Linked DNA regions of Homo sapiens: all the other regions are linked to region 2. Evidence: promoter capture Hi-C in human tissues and cell types (Jung and others, 2019). All regions are on one chromosome and are shown on one strand. Each heading gives the region's core, a stretch centred on a gene start or on the middle of the fragment in contact. The rest is flanking DNA. Distances are from core to core; before and after follow the strand shown. Region 1 holds the start of TNFRSF13B (TNF receptor superfamily member 13B). Region 2 overlaps PEMT (phosphatidylethanolamine N-methyltransferase). Region 3 holds the start of ALKBH5 (alkB homolog 5, RNA demethylase).

Evidence for each region. The method cuts DNA at HindIII sites, captures the fragments that hold promoters and counts their contacts. A contact is called where the count stands out against the background at its distance.
Region 1: the fragment with the promoter of TNFRSF13B here is called in contact with a fragment that was not itself captured in region 2 in 1 of the 25 tissues and cell types used here (spleen).
Region 3: a contact is called between the fragment with the promoter of ALKBH5 here and a fragment that was not itself captured in region 2, in 3 of the 25 tissues and cell types used here (dorsolateral prefrontal cortex, hippocampus and mesenchymal stem cells).

The regions. Positions count from the first base shown.
Region 1 is chr17:16,970,757-16,974,061 of GRCh38, reverse strand. It overlaps TNFRSF13B (TNF receptor superfamily member 13B), which reads left to right and starts at 1,944. Exons shown (of 5, transcript NM_012452.3): 1 at 1,944-2,047. The coding sequence starts at 1,987. RefSeq lists enhancers at 223-272, 343-512. The HindIII fragment of the contact is 7,559 bases long and covers 1-3,305 here.
Region 2 is chr17:17,585,226-17,588,455 of GRCh38, reverse strand. The region is part of intron 1 of PEMT (phosphatidylethanolamine N-methyltransferase); the gene reads left to right. It also overlaps the pseudogene EEF1A1P43. Among named protein-coding and RNA genes, the nearest start is that of PEMT, 4.9 kb to the left of the region's middle. The HindIII fragment of the contact is 6,883 bases long and covers 1-3,230 here.
Region 3 is chr17:18,182,273-18,185,357 of GRCh38, reverse strand. ALKBH5 (alkB homolog 5, RNA demethylase) reads right to left here and starts at 1,530. Exons shown (of 4, transcript NM_017758.4): 1 at 345-1,530. The coding sequence starts at 1,114. RefSeq lists silencers at 653-804, 963-1,052, 1,133-1,432 and enhancers at 698-1,535, 1,643-1,882, 1,943-2,142. The HindIII fragment of the contact is 6,004 bases long and covers 1-3,085 here.

The sequences.
Region 1 (3,305 bases), core at 695-3,194, 610 kb after region 2:
AAAGTCCCCTTTGACGGTCACCCCCAGTCCTGGTTCCCTCTTGCCCCACCCGGCGAGAGCCAGTTTCGTCATGCATGTCTTTGCAGACTTCTTATGCTTCACAGTCATGTGTGCGTGATCACAGACAACACAGCGCTGTACTGTGTGTGTGTGTGTGTGCATGTTGTTTGCTTTTGGTTTTGTTTTACTAAAAGGCATCATGCTGTAAGGCTCATGCTATAAGCTACTTTTATTTACTCAGCGTCTGTCCTGAAAGCTTCGAGATTTCTCATTCTTTTAACTGTGCAATAGATTCCTGGCTCTGGCCTGTGCACCCTGCTTATTCAGGCATCCTCTGCTGCATGGACATTTACATTGTTTCCCGTTTCTCGCTGTCATGAGGAGGCTCACGGAGGAGGAGAATTTCTGGGGGGTGGGTTAGGTGTGTGTTGTGCATTTAACTGACCCTGGCTGGTTACTCTCCAGAACGCTGCTGCCAGCTCCCTCCCTCCAGTGGGCCCTGAGTTCATGCTTCTGTAGATCACCCCCCTGCCCTTGATGTTACCAACTTTAAAACTTTGCAACCTGATGGCTGAAAGTTAGTTTTTCATTGTTCAGTTGTTTTTCTGATTTTTGGGAGACTGGACATTTTCCTGTGTTTGCTGACCGTCTGCATCTCCTCTCCTGCTCTGTGCACCATCACCCTGCTCCAGCTGCTTCCTGCAGCCTCCCTCCTTCCTCTCCACCTCTCCATGTCCTCCTCGTCCTTCAGTTTCTTCCTAAGGGCCCATGGGCTTTCTTTGGCTTTTACGTTCCTCTCACTCCGCCTTTGGCTGTTGCTGGGCCTCCCATCCCCTGGGAGGTTTCAGACGATGGGGAAGACACAGGAGTGCAGTCGCCATGCAGTGCAATACGGGCTGTAATGTTCCTCCTCCACGGCCTTTATTGAGGACTTACTGTGTGCCAAGAACCTGCTCTAAGAATGTAACTGTGCTCCCTCCCTCATTTCATGCTCATAACCGCCTGTGAGGCGGGCAATGTTCTCATCCTTTTTTTTTTTTTTTTTTTTGAGATGGCATCTCTGTTGCCCAGGCTGGAGTGCAATGGCACGATCTCGGCTCACTACAACCTCTGACTCCCAGGTTCATTCTCCTGCCACAGCCTCCCAAATAGATGGGACTACAGGCACGCGCCACCACACCCGGCTAATTTTTTGTATTTTTTTTTAGTAGAGATGGGGTTTCACCGTGTTGCCCAGGATGGTCTCGAACTCCTGAGCTCAGACAATCCACCTGCCTCGGCCTCCCAAAGTGCTAGGATTACAGGCGTGAGCCACCATGCCCGACCTCATCCTTGTTTTACACAGAGAACATGGAGGCACAGAAGAGTTCCATAAATTGCCACCAAGGCCTTCTGCTAGTATGCAGCAGAGTCAAGATTCAAACGCAGGCTGTCCGGTCCTGGGGTTCAGCCTCTCCAGTGCTCTGCTAGGTGTTGGAGAGGGTCAAGGAGATACAGAGAATGAGTACCACCTGACAGGCTGGGACAGTCAGGGATGGCTTCCTGGAGGAGGTGACACCTCAATGGAGCCTTGAAGGAAGAGCAGGAGGAGCCGACCAGGCAATGAATAGAATAAGTATACCCAGGAAGAGGGAAAGGCCTGAGTGATGCTGGGAGGGTGGAGAGCTGGCCTGGCTTGGGGTGTGTGCCGGCGGGCAGGAGATGAGGACCAAGGGATGGCCAAGGCCAGATCTAGAAGAGCCTGGGCCATCCCATAGTCAATACCTCATCGCAAGGCCCGGCAGGCCTTCCACTGCTCTGTGTGTACCCCATGGGACGCCAGGAGCCTGGGCCGCAGCCACCCACCTGGGCTCCTGAGACCCAATGCACAGGCATGGGGGCGGGAGTGGGTGTGGCTGATTTACATCCAACAGGTTGAGGGGAAAACCCAGGAAGTGCAGCCCAAGCACTAATCAAATCTAAGACTAGTAATAAGCATCCTGAGTAATGAGTGGCCTGGGCCGGAGCAGGCGAGGTGGCCGGAGCCGTGTGGACCAGGAGGAGCGCTGTGAGTAGCCGGGCAGGAGGGCAGGAGGGCAGGTGGGAGGTGTGAGGAGGGTTGGGCCTGAGTGCCGTGGGGGTTGCAAGGTCCAGCAGGTGCAAAGCCCACAGCAGATCCACACACTGGGGCAGTCCCAGCCTCCCCAAGCTCCTGCACATGGAGAGCCCCGAGTCTGGATGCCTCTGGGATGTGGGGCTTGCCTTCCGTGACAGAAGCCACTGAGGTTGCAGGGTTGGCCACACCGGCAGGAATTCCCTTTGTCACCATGGCCCCTGCACAGCCCCCATTTTCCCCCTTACATGCCCGCTGGACCATTTTAATGCTAATCTCAAATACCAGATTGTTTGAGTTGTGGAGACCACAGGATTTATTCCTTAAGAACACAAACCCTAAAAACAAAACAAAAAACTAAGCATCATACCTTCACCCCTGCTGAAACAACAATTCCTGAACATCATCACATAGCCCGCCAGGGTTCAAACTGTACCAACTGTCTCACCAATGTCTTTCTCAGTTGACTTGTTCAAATCAGCCTGTCCCACATTAGACTTTTGGCTATGTTTTAATCTATAACAGTTTCCACCCATTTTTTCTGTTATATATTTATATTTATATTTATCCTATAGCTTTCTTTTTTTTTGTTTTGTTGTTTTGTTTTTGTTTTTGTTTTTTGAGACAGAGTCTTGCTCTGTCACCCAGGTTGGAGTGCAATGGCATGATCTCGGCTTTCTGCAACCTCCGCCTCCCGGGTTCAAGCCATTCTCCTGCCTCAGCCTCCCGAGTGGCTGAGATTATAGGTGCCCACCACCACGCCCGGCTAATTTTTTGTATTTTTAGTAGAGATAGGCTTTCGCCACGTTGGCCAGGCTGATCTCAAACTCCTGACCTCAGGTGATCCACCTGCCTCAGCCTCCCAAAGTATTGGGATTACAGGCATGAGCCACGGCACCCGGCCCGTATAGCATTTTCATCAGGGTGGGTTTCTAAGGTTTTATGAAAGGGCCCCAGGTCCTTTAGTGCAGACAGAACCCATGGCCAGATGGACCCGGGGCACAGCCTAGATTCACAGCCTCTGCCTGCTGCTCTGTCCCACACCTCAGGCAGGGAGCAAATTTGTTCTTCAGTCCTTTTTTGTGTCCAGCCACCAAGTCCCCAGAATCTACACAGCCAGGGGCTCAAATATGTAAAGTTTCTGAGAGACTTGGACAAGGCAGTGACCAGAGGCTGCCTTAACACAGGATGAAATTGCCCAGTGCTCTGGGGC
Region 2 (3,230 bases), core at 356-2,855:
GTATTCAGAAGGCTGAGAGACCTGGGGCAGGGGACACAGGTCCCTGTGTGTAATATGGGCACCCGAGTAAGACCCTGGAGGCAAAGCTCCGATGGCCGATGCGGGGTATCTTGACTGCCTTTCAGGGAAAAATGTTTGCCTTTATCCAAAATCGTTTCCAAAAATCTTTTGATTGTATTACTTTAGTTGAAATAAACATTAGGCCGTTATATTAGATGAGTTACTCTGTGGTGTTTTCAAGGCCGTACATTTTGTCTTCAGTAATTTTGGCATCAGCCAAGACAGAGCAGGGTTGAGGCTTTCCGTGGCTGCTCATCAAAACAATGACAGAAACTCTTGGAGCTTGTTTCCCCTGCCTCTGTTGAGATGACACTGTTTTTCCTCATTAAGCTGTAAATATGAATTCCATTGATGTTTTGAATGTTGAACTAGCTCTGGATTCCTGGGGTGATCTCTGGCTGGTCCTAACATATTATCCTTTGTATATATTGCTGGATTTGATTTGCTCTAATTTTTGGGGGGATCTTCTTTCTTTATCTGGTTTCATTTGATTTAATTAATTTATTTATTTTAAGACAGAGTCTCGCTCTGTTGCTCAGGCATGTACTCAGGAATGCAGTGGCGTGATACCAGCTCATTGCAACCTCCGCCTCCCGAGTTCAAGCAATTCCCCCACCTCAGGCTCCCGAGTAGCTGGGATTACAGGTGCACCTACCACCACACCTGGTTTTTGTTTTGTTTTGTTTTGTTTTTTGTATTTTTAGTAGCGACAGGGTTGTTGGCCAGGCTGGTCTCAAACTCCTGACCTTAAGTGATCCACCCACCTTGGCCTCCCAAAATGCTGGGATTACAGGCGGTGAGCCACTGCACCCGGCCTGGTTTTAGTGTTAGGGTAATACAGTGAGTTGGGAAGTATTGCCTCCCTCTTCCATATTCTGGAAGAGATTGTGTGGAATTGGAATTATTTTTTCCTTAAATGTTAGGCAGAATTCATCCAGGAAACCATCTGGGCTCAAGGCTTTCTTTTTTTAGGTTTTTAAGCCATAAATTCAAATCCTTTAAAAGATAAAGGATTATTTCTTGAATGAATTTTGACAGTTGTGTCTTGCAAGGATCGGTTCATTTCATCTAAGTTACTTAATTTGTGTTATTCATAGTATTCCCTTATTATTACTTTAATGTTTGTGAGGTCAGTAGAGAAGTCCCCCCTTTTATTTCTGATATTGATATTTTGTGTCTTTTCTCTTTTTTTCTTGGTCAGGCTGGCTGGAGGTTTCTCAGTTTTATTGGGAAAATAAATTTTCCCCAAAGAACCAGCTTTGGGTGTAATTTTTTTTTCTCTATTGTTTTCCTGTTTTCAATTTGATTGATTTTTGCTTATCTTTAATTTTTTGTCCTGCCTCCTTTGGGTTTAACTCATTCCTCTTTCTCTAATTTCTTTCTTTCTTTTTTTGAGACGGAGTCTTCCTCTGTTGCCCAGGCTGGAATGCAGTGGTGCAATCTCGGCTCACTGCAACCTCCGTCTCCCGGGTTCAAGCAATTCTCCTGCCTCAGCCTCCCAAGTAGCTAGGATTACAGGCGCCCTCCACCACGCCTGGTTAATTTTTGTATATTTAGTAGAGATGGGGTTTCACCATGTTGGCCGGGCTGGTCTTGAACTCCTGACCTCAAGTAATCTGCCTGCTTCAGCCTCCCAAAGTACTGGGATTATAGGCATGAGCCACTGCGCCCAGCCACTCTTTCTGTAATTTCTTAAGGGCAAAGCTTATATTCCTGACCTGGGACTTTTCTTCCTTACTAATAGAAGCCCTGCCTTAGCCGCATCCCACAGGGTTTCATGTGTTCTATTCTCATTTTCATTCAGTTCAAAATGTTTCTAGATTTCCCAAGACTTCCCATTTGGCCCTCGCGTGCATTCTTTCCACGATCGCTTTCTGTGACTGATTTCGAGTTTAATTCTGTGGTGGTTTGGGAGCATACTGTGTATGCTTTCTATTCGTTTAAATTTAAGGTTTGTTTGGTGGCCCCAAGTGTGATCTGTTTTGGTGACACCAGAGACTGCAGGCTGTTCCCAAGGCTGCCATGTGCTGTGGTCAGGTCCAGCCACTGGATGGCGCTGCTCAGGTCAGCTGCGTCCTCCCGATTTTCCACCTGCGTTTTTTTTTTTCTTTCTTTCTTTCTTTCTTTCTTTCTTTCTTTCTTTCTTTCTTTCTTTCTTTCTTTCTTTCTTTCTTTCTTTTTCTTTCTTTCTTTCTTTCCTTCCTTCTTTTTCTTTTTCTTTCTTTCTTTTTCTCTTTCTTTTTCTTTCTTTCTTTCTCATTAGATTTTTTTTAATGGGTCTCAAAAATCTGTGACAATTTTTTTTTTTTTTTTGAGACGGAGTCTCGCTCTGTCGCCCAGGCTGAAGTGCAGTGGCGCCATCTTGGGTCACTGCAAGCTCCACCTCCCGGGTTCACGCCATTCTCCTGCTTCAGCCTCCCGAGTAGCTGGGACTACAGGCGCCTGCCACCACGCCCAGCTAATTTTTTTAATTTTTTAGTAGAGACGGGGTTTCACCGTGTTAGCCAGGATGATCTCGATCTCCTGACTTCATGATACGCCCGCCTCAGCCTCTCAAAGTGCTGGGATTACAGGCATGACTCACCGCGCCCGGCCCGACAAATTTTTGGTCAAGTTGTTTCCATTCAAAAGTACTGATTTTAAAAACTAATAACTTAAAACTGCCACAGGCAAAAAAGAAAACCAAAGTGGTCCACAAAACATTTTCCTTTCCTTCTAAAGGTTTTATGATGCATTGTTATCATTAACCAGTCTTTTACTACTAAATTTAAATGGTCAATTGAAACAAACAGTTCTGAGACGTTCTTCACCACTGATTAAGAGCGGGGTGGCAGGTATTAGGGATAATATTCATTTAGCCTTCTGAGCTTTCTGGGCAGACTTGGTGACCTTGCCAGCTCCAGCAGCCTTCTTGTCCACTGCTTTGATTCTCTCAGTCACTGAGAGGACCATGGAGGGCCCTAACAAGAACTGTGGATTTGTCTTTTCCACCCTTTAGTTCTGTCAGCTTTTGCTTCATACCTCACCTCACTTCTTTTTGTTGTTGTTGTTTGTTTTTGAGATGGATTCTCGCTCTGTCGCCCAGGCTGGAGTGCAGTGGCATGACCTCAGCTCACTGCAACCTCCGCCTCCCAGGTTCATGCGATTCTCCTGCCTCAGCCTCCAGAGTA
Region 3 (3,085 bases), core at 281-2,780, 600 kb before region 2:
AAAACCGGAAAATCACAAAGGGACTTATGCTAAGAAATGGATGGTGGGAAAAAAAAAAATCAAAGGGAACAGCCTTCTGAAAAGATGGCTTTCGATGAATTCTCAGCCAAGTCAGTGATCCCGTCAAACCTGCCTTCGGGGACAGGATTTCCACATCGGTTCCCTATTTTCTTGCTATAGGTATCTTAAACACAAAACCCTTCTCTCGCTCCCTACAATCTACAAACAGAAGAACTGGTCAGAACTGTAAAAAACGCAGACTCCTACGGGCTGCTGCTTTCTGGGCCAGGGTGGGTAGCTAAGGCAGCAGGCGCAGGGCCGCCCCCTCCACCCGGGTGGGTTACCTGAGCACAGTCACGCTTCCCCTGCGCACCGGCAGGGAAAGCACTGGTTCCGACACCCGAATAGGCTTGAACTGGAACTTGCAGCCGAAGCACAGCGCAGAGTCGCTAAAGAAGGACACGGACACGATGGGGCGCTCGAAGATGTGGATGGGGTCCACGTGAGACACGATGCAGCCGCCGGGCTGGTAGTCGTTGATGACGGCGCTGTTGACGAAGCCCTCGGGGATGACGCGGTGCTCCACCAGCTTTTGGATCACCAGCTGGTGCACCCACTCGGGGATCTCGTCCACGTCGCCCGGCGGGTAGAGGCGCTCCTGGCCGGGCCCGCGCTTCTGCAGCTGGGCGCCGTAAGTGTAGCCTTCGCCGAAGAAGTACTTGTTGCGCAGTGGGGCCCGGTCCACCGTGTGCTCGTTGTACAGGCCCTTCTCAGCGCGGGACACCACCTCGTCAATGCGGGCCTCGATCTTGGCGCACTCGTCCTGGCTGAAGAGGCGCATCTGGCGGATGCCGCTCTTCACCTTGCGCGCCTCCTCCTCCTTCTGCAGCTGCTGCTCCTCATAGTCGCTGCGCTCGGGGTCCGAGTCCTCCTGATACTTGCGCTTGGCCCCGGACACAGGGTAAGGTTCGGCGGCAGCGGCGGCTGCGGCTGCGGCGGCTACGGCGGCTGCGGCAGCGGCGGCGGCCTCCCGGCTGCCCGCCTTATAGTTGTCCCGGGACGTCATGGACTTGAGCTTCTCACGCAGGTCCGTGTAGCCGCTGGCGGCCGCCATGGCCCCCACGACGCTGCTCTAGGGTCCTCCGGGGCGGGCGGGGCAGCCGGGCATGGCTCTAAGGGGACGCGCCCCGGGGCCCCCGGAGGGAGGGGGGTCCTTAGCGCCGAACCCCCATGCGTGAGTGGGGGACCCGGCGGGGGGCGTCGAGGGTCCGGGCGTGGGGTAGGGCCTCAGGAGCGGCGGGTCATGCAACGGTGGCGACAACGGGGCTTCTTCCTCCTCCACCTTCTCCACGTCCCGCGGGGCAGGGGCGCCGGCAGCGCCTCATGCCGCGGAGGGCTGCTGCGGAGACGCGGCCCGACTCCCGACCAGACCCTCGGACGCCCGGCCCGGCCCGCACTTTAAAGCTCTCCGCACGACGTCACGGGCAGCCAGCCCGACGTCCGCCAGCGCCGCTCCTTAGCGGGCTCCTCACCGCGCACGCGCAGTGCTGCCGGCCACCGCGGCTCCGCGCGCTACGGGCATGCGCGTGCGTGCAGGCCGGGTCGGCAGAGGCGCCGGCGCAAGCGCAGACAGGAACCGCTTGCCGTCCGCCGCCCCTCCCCCACTCTCTGAGGGGCTTCAAGGGAACGCTCTCAAATAGCAACCTGTCTTCACGCCGCGCCGCCTCCAGGACCGAAGGGCTCCCTCTACAGGGGTGCGCTCATATTGCCAACAGTGTCGCCGTGCCGCGTCACGGCATCGTCCGAACGCCCGCAGACGCCTCAACCCCAGGGCGCATTCACCAGGGAACCGCCACAACGTAGGCCGCTCCGTTACCTCCCCCTTTGGCGCTTCCACTTCTTTAATTGGGCCGTGGGCCACGCGCCGGGCAGGCCCTGACTGGAGTTTCCGGAAGTCGGTTGGTAATCATGCGTGTCAATCAGGCAGTCTCCTTAGCTACTGTGTCCGTCACTTAATTAGCGGCTGGGCGAGCAGCGAGGACCCCTAAAGGAGAAATGGGTGGTTAAATAAGTGCCTGAATGGAGACTCCACCTGAGTAAAGCCCTTAGAACGCCTAAGGAAACTTCTGAAACCCGCGAAAACTTCTCAGACTGCGGGACCTGCAGCACCCGGCCCCAGTTCTGAACCCAGATAGGAACGTCCGGCAGAAGCCAGACGCGCGTTGTCGGGGTACAAGCCAGCCTGCCGCCGCTGCCGCCGCCGCCCGGAGCGGACGTTTCACGAGTCACGTCCCGGTGACGGCGAGCGTGGGGGCGCGCTGGGGTTGGCGTCGAGCCTCCTTGGTGCTGGAGATGGGCGTGGGGGCACCTCCTACGGGGACTCTGGAAGAAAACTCCAGGAAACGAACGGGCGCAAGGCTAAGGCTAAGCTATAGATAATGACTACAGTCAATTCAAAAAAGTTTTGAAGCAGTCAGCAAAGGCGTTGCCGGGCGCGGGGCCTCACGCCTGTAATCCCAGCACTTTGCGAGGCCAAGGCGGGCGGATCACTTGAGCCCAGGAGTTTGAGACCAGCCTGGCCAACATGGCAACCCCATCTCTACAATAAAATTTTTAAAAATGAACTGGGCGTGGTGGCGCGCGCCTATGGTCCTAGCTACTCAGGAGGCTGAGGTGGGAGGATCCCTTGAGCCCAGGGGATTGAGGCTGCAGAGAGCCGAGCTGGCGCCACTGCACTCCGGCCTGGGCGACAGAGCTGCAAAACAAAACAAAAAGGCGTAGCCGTGCAGGATGCACTGGAGGGCTCCAACAAATGGGGGTCGGGGGGGATCTGCTGGAAAATCTCCCATGTCTCCCAGGATAAAGTTCCCCTGCTTTATTTGGCACTCAAAGCTTTTCTTCAAGACTCTTCTGGCCTTGGCTCCTCCTCTCCTCTCTTTCCATGTACACTGAGCCCCAGCCTGGTCCTCATCCTGTAAGCCAGGTCTACAAACATACTGTGTCTCACCTCCTGGCCTTTGCCCAGGCTGTTTGCCATGGCTGTTGCCCATGCCAGTTCCTTATCACCCGTCTCCCTCTCTCTCTC